3 separate regions of the Homo sapiens genome follow, and all the other regions are linked to region 1. The links are contacts of gene promoters, found by promoter capture Hi-C in blood cells and fetal thymus (Javierre and others, 2016). All regions are on one chromosome and are shown on one strand. The core of a region is centred on a gene start or on the middle of the fragment in contact, and the rest is flanking DNA. Distances in the headings are between cores, read along the strand shown. Region 1 holds the start of AXDND1 (axonemal dynein light chain domain containing 1). Region 2 overlaps RASAL2 (RAS protein activator like 2). Region 3 overlaps RASAL2 (RAS protein activator like 2).

Region 1 (3,710 bases), core at 577-3,076:
GTACTAAATTGAGTTTCTCTTATCTCTGCTATTACTTTTTGTTTCTTTATTTACTTATTTGAGACCAAGTCTACCTCTGTTGCCCAGGCTAGAGTGCAGTGGCAAGATCTTGGCTCACTGCAACCTCTGCCTCCCGGGTTCAAGTGATTCTCCTGCCTCAGCCTGCCGAGTAGCTGGGATTACAGGCGAGTGCCACCACACCAGGCTAAATTTTGTATTTTTAGTAGAGACCGGGTTTCACCACGTTGGTCAGGCTGGTCTCAAACTCCTGACCTCGTGATTTGAGACGGAGTCTCGTTCTGTCGCCAGGCTGGAGTGCAGTGGCGCAATCTCGGCTCACTGCAACCTCCACCTCCCGGGTTCAAGCGATTCTCCTGCCTCAGCCTCCTGAGTAGCTGGGACTACAGGCACGAGCCACCACGCCCCCCCTAATTTTTGTATTTTTAGTAGACAGAGTTTCTCCATGTTGGCCAGAATGGTCTCAATCTCTTGACCTCGTGATCCGCCAGCCTCAGCCTCCCAAATGGGATTACAGGTGTGAGCCACTGTGCCCGGCCTATTTATTTATTTATTTTGAGATGGGGTCTTGCTCTTGTCTCCCAGACTGGAATGCAATGGCTCGATCCTGGCTCACTGCAACCTCACCTCCTGGGTTCAAGCGATTCTCTTGCCTCAGCCTCCAGAGTAAGCTGGGACTACAGGCGCGAGCCACCATGCCCGGCTAATTTTTGTATTTCTAGTAGAGACGGGATTTCATCATATTTGGCCAGGCTGGTCTCGAACTCCTGACCTCAAGTGATCCGCCCACCTCGGCCTCCCAAAGTGCTGGGATTACAGGCGTGAGCCACCGCGCCCTGCCTCACTATTACTTTTTCCAAAGTTCCTTAAAGCCAAAGACCAGGAACCAAAAAATACGTAACTATTGATATTTAAAATAGGTTGAATTTAAAATCATATATAAATCAACATTTGAAAAAAAGTATAAACTGTATTTAGATGGAGTAGTGAAACAGTACTCTGACTCAAAATACTGTAAAAGGAATGACTTCTTGCTTTATTTAAGCAAGTGTGTTAGAAAAATGTAGCCAATCAAGGTATTCTGAATATCAGATTTAAAAAACCGGTGAATGGAAGGTGATTTCTGTCTTACGGCCATGACTGTTTATGACTTCAGAATCAACGAAGTTTACCTCTTGTCCCTTCCTTGGCTACAGACACTTTTAACTTTTTGCTCTCAGATGTTGATGTAGAGTTTAGCGGGGTGGAGGGCGTTTTCGGGAGAGACATAATAAACAATGCCTCCTATCTCTTTAGTAATTTGAAATAGTCCTCCGGAAAGCTAATTTAGACACAAATCAGCGCCGCACTGGGACTTGCAGGCTGCCACATAGTCCTGCAGGCAGAGGAAAAAAGATTTAAAAAAAAAAAAAAAGATGACAACTATTGAGTACTTAGGTTCAGATCGCAGTTTAGAATTCATCTAGCATGGTTCTCCTTCTTCGGGGCGACCTCTATGTTCTGGGGTTATGTGTAGCGACTAAGAAGCCTTAGTGGACCGTCAGGTCGGGGTCAAGGAGCAGGGCAGGAAGGACCCGCTCGGCGGACCCCGCAGACCGCCGGCACCCCTGGTGGGGGACACTCGCTGCAGGCGGCTCGGCTGGGGACCATACCTTCCCCACAGGCAGCGCTCTCGCGCGCCAGTTCCACAAACTCGCGAGTTGGGCAGGCCTCGCACTGCTTCTTGGTTTAAAATGACGGGAAAGGGACACCCGCGATCCTACCCACACATTGCGTACCCGCCCAGCATCCGCTCACTTCCTCCTTTGCTGGAACGCCTGTTTGTCGTCATAGAAACCCAGGGCCCCGAGGTTTAGCGCCCTCCATAGGGGCTGCCTTCAGCGGTGCCGGCGGAGGAGGGAGACAGCTAAGACAATCCCTACACCCTCTTGGAGTTTCTTATGTTCTAAGTCACAGCATAGGTTCAGTAGCAAAGGAGAAGAAAAACGTTTAATCCCGCCGTTGTCACGGAATCCGAAAGTGTCTCACGCCGGGGCTTCCTGCCGCGGGCCAGGCCAGTGCGCAGGCGCCGGTGGGGGTTAGCTCGAGGGGCCGACCCCTGTAGCCCGTGACGCACGCGGGTTAAGCAAGGGTCTTCTGAGTTGTTTCCATCTTTCTAGCTCTCTTTTTTGTTGCTTTGCATATTTTTCTTTCTCTTTCTTCCTCTTTTTCTTTCTTTCTCTTTTTTTCCCCTGAGACGGAATTTCCCTCTTGTCGCCCAGGCTGGAGTTTAATGGTGCGATCTCGGCTCACTGCAACCTCCACCTCCTGGGTTCAAGCAATTCTCCTGCCTCAGCCTCCCAAGCAGCTGGGACTACAGGCAGACGCCACCATGCCCGGCTAATTTTGTAGTTTGTTTTTTGTTTTGTTTTGTTTGAGACGGAGTCTCGTTCTGTCGCGCTGGCTGGAGTGCAATGGTGCGATCTCAGCTCACTGCCACCTCCGCCTCCCAGGTTCAAGCGATTCTCCTGCCTCAGCCTCCCGAGGGACTACAGGCGGGGGCCACCATGCCCGGCTAATTTTTGTATTTTTAGTAGAGACGGGGTTTCACCATATTGGCCAGGCTGGTCTCAAACTCCTGACCGCGCCCGCCTCGGCCTTCCAAAGTGCTGGGATCATAGGCGTGAGCCACTGCGCCCGGACGCTTTGCATATTTTTCTAAAAGCCAGACTCAGGGGGATGTTGGGTAATAAGAAACGCTGGGTCCCTTATTGGGTAAGCCGTCCAGTGCTTTACATTTCGGTCACGTCTTCCTTGGACCCTTAAATGCCTCCCCCCAGAGCACAAGGAAGGCCTCCTGGGCCCAGATTTTTCACCCCCTTGGGGCAGGGAAGGAGGATTGAGCTTAGGTGGAACCAGCTCAGGTATAATTGTCGGGGCTTCTGGCGTGAAAATCTGCCCTCAGGAAAGAATACCATCAGCGGCCGGTGGCTCACGCCTGTAATCCCAGCACTTTCTTAGGCCGAGGCGGGTGGATCACGAGGTCAGGAGTTCGAGACCAGCCTGACCAACATGGTGAAACCCCGTCTCTACTAAAAACACAAAAATTAGCCAAGAGAGGTGGCGCGCGCCTGTAATCCCAGCTACTCAGGAGGTTGAAGCAGGAGATTCGCTTGAACCGGGGAGGAAAGGGTTGCGGTGAGCCGAGATGGCGCCACCGCACTCCAGCCTGGGCAACAGAACGAGACTCCGTCTCAAAAAAAAAAAGAGTATCATCAGAGCCTTCGCACTGAACTGAGGCTCGGTTCGGTGAGGGATCATTTCTTTTCTTTTCTTTTTTGAGACGGAGTTTCACTCTTGTTGCCCAGGCTGGAGTGCAATGGCTCGATCTCGGCTCACCGCAACCTCCGCCTCCCAGGTTCAAGCGATTCTCCTGCCTCAGCCTCCCTAGTAGCTGGGATTACAGGCATGCGCCACCACGCCCAGCTAAATTTGTGTTTTTAGTAGAGACGGGGTTTCTCCATGTTGGTCAGGCTGGTCTCGAACTCCCGACCTCAGGTGATCCACCCGCCGCGGCCTCCCAAAGTGCCGGGATTACAGGCATGAGCCGGATCGTTTCATATTAAGGCAGAGATTTAGTGCCAAATAATGAATCGCTGGGAGAAGCCCAGCGTCTAGTTGCTTCCAGACAGGGAGGAAACTTTATCTTATTC
Region 2 (3,710 bases), core at 622-3,121, 1.1 Mb after region 1:
TATTGTACTCTGGCAGGCCTGGCCTCCAGATTACAGCACCACAGTTGGAAAATAGTATGCAGCAGACACCTGGGCAATGGTGACCAACACAGTGGCTGCCTATTGTCCAATGCCTGAAAATAGTTGTGTTGCACACCCATGCTCTCTTTCGATTGATCGATAGATGGACAGACAGATAGACAGATAGTGAGGGGGTGGTGTCCTATTTTTTGTTGTTTACAGTGGGAGGGCCCATCTTGCACCAGTCATTCTGTCATAGCTGGTGCCAAAAGCCTCTATTTATCTCTTAATTAAACTCCTGCAACAGTTTCTTCACTGGTATCTGCCTGGGACGTTCTGCCCCTTAAACCTATCCTTTACATAGTTATCATAATAGTTCCAAAATGCAAATACGATCATGTCATCCTGAGGTTTAAAGCCCTTCAGCAGTTCTTTGCCTCTAGCAGTGGTTTTCAAAGAAGTGGTGGTGTGTTTGTGTATGGAAGTATGTGGGGGTGGGGGGAAGTATCTCTGCTTCAACCTGAACATCATTCTCAGTGTATCTGTTGTACAGGGCTTCTGCATAAGCCTTTCTACAAAGAAAGTGTCCTTCTGCTTAAAAAGGGTTTAAAAACTACTATCCTATAAATTAGTGCAAGCTCCCTAATATAGTACACCAGATTTTCCACAATCCAGCCACTGTCTCTGTCTGTGTGCTCAGTTTTAGACTTCATTCTAGAAATACCAAATTGCTTGCAATTCTTTAATACATTCCCTATTGTGTAGTTCAGTGCCATGGCTTAGTTTGTTCTCTCTTCCTGAAATGTTTTCCCTCTTTCTTTTCTATTCTACATCTGCAAGGTAAACTCCTAATCATCCTGAGGCTTAGGACAGGCTTTGCATTTCCCAGGAATCTTCCTCCTCTATCAGTCCCCTAAGGGAAGGTCAAGGTACACTTCCATTTAGTTCTCCGGTAACACATCTTTCTCTGTCATTATACTTACTGTGTTAAATTATAATTATTCATTTATGCAACTAATTCCACGTAAGTTAACAGCTTGTACTTTACCAGTAAATCCCCAAACCTTAAAATAGTTCACAAATAAGTGAATGATAGGTAGAGATGGGGGCCATTTTAGGCAAAGGAAAAAGCATAACATCAGCCAGGAAGCTGGTAAGTATATGACTTTTTTGTTTTGTTTTGGAATAGGGAGTAGGCCAATTTGGCTAGAGCCTCTTAATAGGGAGAAAAGGGATGGAACAATATATTATGAACATGTTAGGAGGGCTGGAATACCAGACCACGCATGGGGAGCACTGAGAAGCCACTCAAGCTTTTAGATCTAAGGACTGGCAGTCTCCTAATTGTTCTGTTTCCTGTGTCTTGTTCTTCCAATACGTCCTACAGATTAATATTTATAACACCTAACTTTGATCAAATTGCTTCTTTTATTAAGCTTTCCTTTGGTAATTCCCCATTGCCAGTGGCATCTTAATGACATATTTAGTTAGGCTAAGGTTCTTTTTATAATTAATGGATTTCTCTCTCTTATTCTATCCATTTACTTGTGTTATTTATCAAATGTCACTTTAAAATTGTCTTATTTTTACCACTAAATTTGTTACGGGGGAGAAAGAGGAAAGAAGATCTGTCTTGTGCTTTGTAACTCCTAACACAGTGAATAACATATAAGGGCATATTATATATCTATTGAATAATTTAAAAGTGGTTCTGAATGAAATATGCCATAGGTAGCTCACCCCAGAATAAATACCAGTTAATTTTTAGCTATTTGCACAAAGACTGATATTTTCATCAACATATCTGAGTGTAAACACTTTCAAAAGAAAAATGTTTTAAAACATTTAAAAGTGTCATTTTAAATGCCTTGCTGCCTATACACCAGAATCCAGCCTTAAACATTCTAAATATAGAAAGTAGAGTTTGCATTAAGAAAAATGGAGTCAAATGGACCCTGCCTAATAGACTGTTATTGCCAAAAGAAATAAACTCATAAATTCAGCTTTTGTATTTTTATAATGGCTGTACCTCTGAGGGGTTCATGTTTGTCTTCTCTACCATTTCCCTCAACTCCTTAATCTCAAATTTACTTGGTCTCATCTCTTGCAAGCAAAATGAAAGTCAAATGGCCTCCTGTGCCCTCTTTGAACTGGGCTGGTATCAAGCCAGTTGGGGCCTTTCCTGGTACCCAGGCAAGAAAGTATATTTCATAGCACATAAGCAATATCTATTTGGCACAATTTGCATGAAGCAGTTTACTGAACCAATAAGTCATTTGTCAAGGTGACACTCCCAGCAAGCTTCTCTTTCAGCATTCTGCCCCAATCTACCCTTCTGCCACATTCCCAGATTGGTCATTGGAATATTTAACACTCTTCCCATGTATACTCCTCAAACAGACTTTTCCCCAGTTCTGACAAGAAACATGTAGAGTTAAGAGAAAGCATTAAAAGATGCCACACACTGACTTAATACATGAGTGATACTAGACTAATATAATCCTCCCACATTCCAGCAGTGCCTGGCTAAGGATTCAGTTTAAATCCTTACAGAACCCTTTTAATTAATTTTTTAACACAGCAATAAACACCCCCATGATGATTTAATTAAAGTTTAAAACCATCTTTTTAGATAATTTTAGCAGGAAATTCCTTAAACTCATTTTAAGAAATTCTAAATTATTCAATGCAAAATTCCAAGGATTAAGAGTTAAATTCTTTATAATTCTTTTTTTTTTTTTTTTTTTTTTGAGACAAAGTCTTGCCCAGTCACCCAGGCTGGAGTGCAATGGTGCGATCTCAACTTACTGCAACCTCCACCTCCCGAGTTCAAAGGATTTCTCCTGCCTCAGCCTCCCGAGTAGCTGGGGTTACAGGCACCCGACACCATGTCCAGCTAATTTTTGTATTTTTCGTAGAGACAGGATTTCACCATATTGGTCAGGCTGGTCTCGAACTCCTGACCTCGTGATCCACCTGCCTCGGCCTCCAAAAGTGCTGGGATTCCAGGTGTGAGCCGCCGTGCCCGGCCCACATTCTTTATAATTCTTAAGTGTGGGTGAAAGGTAGAAGGGTGACAGCATATTCTGGTTCCTACACAAGAAATTGATTTATAATCTTTTCATGTAATGAAATTAACAGAAAATCAAACTTATTCAAGTAAAGCAATGTAAAGCAATGGCTTCACATTTTCTTTTCCTAGAGATTTAATTCAATTTTCCCCATATAATAATGGCAGAACATAAACACCTGTCTGAGGGCATTAAACTGTTTTTGTAAACTGTTTTGTAAATTTATCCCTTCATTATTCCTCACCTGGTCTACTGCAGCAATCTTGTAACTCATCTATTTGCTTCTAATCCCTTTCACTTCATTTTCCATATAATCCACAGAGTTACTTCTCTAAGAAGCAAATCTGATGATGTCATTACCTTGCTAAATACCCTTTCCCTGGTCCAGATCATTTCCGGAATAAAATCCAAATTCCTCATCATAGCCTTCAAGGTTCTTCATTACCTAGTTCTTGCTAGCTATCACTTTTCCTCTTGCAAACTATGTTCCATGAACTCTGAATATTTTTCAGTTTGCCAAAGAGACATATGTTTCTTGACTTTGTATCATTATATACACTCAGAATGTCCTTCCCTTCTTTTTCTCCTCATGAGCCCTTATTTGTCCCTTAAGATACAGTCCAAGCATAAATTTCTCTG
Region 3 (3,710 bases), core at 589-3,088, 1.1 Mb after region 1:
CCTCTTTTAACACATTTCCTTCTGCAGAAGCAACCACTTTTACCTCTCTTAGCCAATTGTTTTGGTAGTTAACATCAAATATTGAATAATATTGCTTTGTTGATACTTTAAAATTTCTCTATTTTAGACATTATCTATTGACTTTCCACTATGAAAGATGAGAATGTGAATCCTTCCTCCTCCATCACCATCCCAGTAGGTGCATACATACTCCTATTCTCTCACCTTCCCTATATAGTTACATAATAATTTTGGTAAAGGCAAACAATATTATGACTATGTACGTTATTTAGACTCCAGCCACAGAGTAAATCCTATGTAGACTGTAGCATAGTGGTCAGGAGCATAGATCTTGAAGGCATACTTCCAGGGTTCAAAGCCTATCTTTGCCACTTAATGGCTGTCTAGCTATTTAGGCAAGTTACTTCACCTCTCTATGCCTCAGTTTCCTTATCCATAAAATATTCATTGTAACATTATCTACCTCTTGGGTTTACAAGGATTAAAAAATTCATATATGTAAAGTGCCCAATATGATAAAAAGTGCTATAGAAGTGTTCTCTTTGTCCTGAGCTACTTTTTTGTTTCTCTTATAGTGTTCTCTTGTATTATTCATTTGCTTAGATATCTATATGCTTATTGTTAATTCAACCACAAATGCGCTTCCTATTGTTTCCGCTGATTGAGTTAACTTATCAATTTTGTGTTCTTGGAAAGTCTCGCTACAGCCTTATCAGCTGCTCCAGTCTGAACTGGCTGTCTTTATTCTACATCTTGTACCGAGCTATTAAACTTGGTTCTGTCTTTAGCATTCTACTAAAAGTTCCCTTTTTCTCTCCCCTGTGCTAGATCTCCTGTCCTCATTCTTAGTAAAACATATCTTTCATTAGCTTCAGGAAAAATGATGTGTAGGAGGTAATCTTTTTTGAGTCTTGCATGTCTGAAAATGTCTTTATGCTATTCTCAAATTTGACTAATAGTTTACAGCTAAATATACAATTCTGGACTGGAAAAAAATTTCCTTCAGAATTTTGAGGGCATTCCTCATTGTTCTCTAGCTTCTGATATTGCTTATTGTAAGTCCGCAGCCTTTCTGATCCTTTGTATGTACTCCAATTTCCCTTTTTTTGCAGGTTTGTAAGACTGTCTCTTGTCACTAGAGACAATTTAGAATTTCATGAAATGTGACTTGTCATGGGAACTCAGTAAGCCCTTTCAATCTGGAAACACATATCTTTCAGTGGTGGGAAATTTCCTGAAATTATTTTGCTAGGGTTTTGCTCCCTTTCTTTCCCTTTTTCTGGAATTGTTGTTTTGATATTCAACTTCCTAGACTGGTCCTCTCATTATTTTATCTTTTTTTTCTCTCCACTTTCTATTTTCTCAATTCCATTTTCCAACCCTTATATTGAGTTTTATATTCTAATTTTTTAGTAGACAAAAGCTCAACTTTGTAAAACATTCTGTTCTTGTTTCATGTATGTAACATCCTATCTTTCTGAGGATATCAATCATTTTTTTAAAGTTTTCTGTTCCCTGCCTAGTCTCTACCTCCAAGTTGTTTTTTCCCTTTTTTCTTTTTCTTTTCTTCTTCTTCTTTTTTTGTATGTTTTAGTCTCTCTCTTTCAGGCTTTTCTTCAGATGTCCACTAATCTTGGGAAAGTTGGTATTCTTAGATCTTTCTTCTTGGGCTAAATACACCAAGGGGTATTCTACTAATCTCCTGCCTGTAGGGTAAAGGCAAGTGAGAGAAGAAAGGTGGAGGAGTCCCATCATTCAGCGTGCACATATTCACCTAATTCCCTCATATGTGGTAAAATGCCCTGTTCTCAATTTTGCCTAGTATCTCCCAATCCAAAGATACTTGGGCTTTTTTTTTTCCCTCCAAAGAGTATACTTGGAGTCTTATACTAAGGTGGAGGTATAGGTAGGAAGAACAGTTGTTCAGTGGAATGGGGAAGAGGAGGAGACCTGGGGATCTGCTACCACATATGTCTGGCTCAATTCCTGAGCTATTTAAAGATTCTGTGGTAAAGGTCAGCTTCATTTTTAGCCTTCTTCATAGCCAAGTTAAGATTTGGCTTTCTTAAGTAAGCTATGTCATTTGCCACACTCTATTTGCTTTTCAGCTTTCAATGTGTGTGTGTGTGTGTGTGTGTGTGTGTGTGTGTTTGTGTGTGTGTATGGCTGTTTTCTTCTTTCTCGTTCTCCATATCCTTGATGGATCATGTCTTTAAAATAAAACACCTTTAGTAGGTTTGGTGGAGTTTCTGGGAGGAGTATAATTAGATGCTTGTGTTCAATCTGCCATTCATCTCCTCCAGATGTCCAGGCTGAATCTAAAAATCATTCCTACTTCCCACCTGATTCTCCAACCACCACAGTGGTTTCCTAAGAACTTGGCCTTAGGGCTGATTAAGAGGAGCCTCTAGTGTGGGTATCACATTTTGGAGTACTCTACTCTGGTCTTCTTGGGCACCCATTTCCACAGAACTTGACTGTACAAACTGGGAACAGTAACCATGACAATAGCCTATACAAATGACTTCCACAAATTAGAAAGGGAGTCCTTTATTGAAGAAACTCTACTGCCATCTACTGGAAATTTTATGAAACAGCTACAAATCAGCGATAACAAGTGACAGGTAATTGGGTAACAGTTTGAGCAACCATAAGTGGCAGCACTGCCTTGGAGCCACCTTCACAGAAGTAAACAAATCTCCACTGTGCTAAAATATGGAAGATAAAAGAACAAATTAGGAATCCAAACTTCAAATTACAGCAGAATTGTGGTCTCGCACCTCAACTTAGAATTGAGAACTGATGTCCCAATCGAAAAAAAATGTTACTGCTAATCAAAATCTAGCTCATAAGAGTAACAAAAGTAACAAAATCAAACAGTAAAATTGATTTTAGTAGGTTAGCTTGAGAACTTAAGTACTAGTTTTTTTTTATTTTATTCATGTCAGTTTTGAGACCCAATTAACTACTTCCAAAAGAAAATCAGGAAAATGTTCAAATGTAAATGAAGTTTTTGCATTTAATTGGCTAATAATGCAAACTTCTTTCTAATGGGCAAATCTAACTATATCAGATTGGTAGTAAGGTCAGTTCTGTTATAATATTTGCTTTGAAAACTTTAATGTTCTACTGCAATTGATTTATTTTAGGTAACAATTTGCACATAACACAAAATCTGTGTTTCCTTATGCACAACCTTCACTACTCACATATCCTGTCTATCAATGCTATTATCATCCAGTAGTTTTATAGAAGATTCTAGCATCTTGAAAATATTTCACAAATTATCTAGATATTTCTAACAATGTCTTGGGAATAAAAACAGAGTCCTCACTAATTTACAAATTTCATCTGTAATAAACACTAAATGAACAAAGGAAACTCTACTCACCAAGCCATGTTGAATATACAAGATGTTCATATTCAGATACACCTCAAACATCTACCAGCTGCCTCAGTTCACTGCATGAGTGTTATTAGCCACACCCAACATGCCTGTTGTAACAACATTCTATCCGCTTTTAAATAACCCTCCTTCTATCAATTCAAAATACACTTACAAATTAGTCTGATGCCCTCTACCACAAGGAAACTTTAGGATTTTTTCAAGGTAAAGTGCTATATTCATTATAGTATTTGAAACCTAGTTTTATCACTTTTTTGTGTGTTACTGACCATGTTTTTGAGAG

Evidence for each region. The method cuts DNA at HindIII sites, captures the fragments that hold promoters and counts their contacts. A CHiCAGO score of 5 or more calls a contact.
Region 2: a contact is called between a fragment that was not itself captured here and the fragment with the promoter of AXDND1 in region 1, in 2 of 17 cell types (naive B cells and total B cells). The highest score is 8.9, in naive B cells.
Region 3: a fragment that was not itself captured here is called in contact with the fragment with the promoter of AXDND1 in region 1 in 2 of 17 cell types (naive B cells and total B cells); the score reaches 8.8 in naive B cells.

Annotation. Positions count from the first base shown.
Region 1 is chr1:179,364,087-179,367,796 of GRCh38, reverse strand. It overlaps AXDND1 (axonemal dynein light chain domain containing 1), which reads right to left and starts at 1,826. Exons shown (of 26, transcript NM_144696.6): 1 at 1,797-1,826; 2 at 1,191-1,393. The coding sequence starts at 1,287. RefSeq lists enhancers at 1,426-1,495, 1,876-2,275. The HindIII fragment of the contact is 9,843 bases long and covers 1-3,710 here.
Region 2 is chr1:178,291,076-178,294,785 of GRCh38, reverse strand. The region is part of intron 2 of RASAL2 (RAS protein activator like 2); the gene reads right to left. Among named protein-coding and RNA genes, the nearest start is that of RASAL2, 200 kb to the right of the region's middle. The HindIII fragment of the contact is 865 bases long and covers 1,439-2,303 here.
Region 3 is chr1:178,309,715-178,313,424 of GRCh38, reverse strand. All of the region lies in intron 3 of RASAL2 (RAS protein activator like 2), which reads right to left. Among named protein-coding and RNA genes, the nearest start is that of CLEC20A, 190 kb to the left of the region's middle. RefSeq lists a silencer at 2,417-2,711. The HindIII fragment of the contact is 6,190 bases long and covers 1-3,710 here.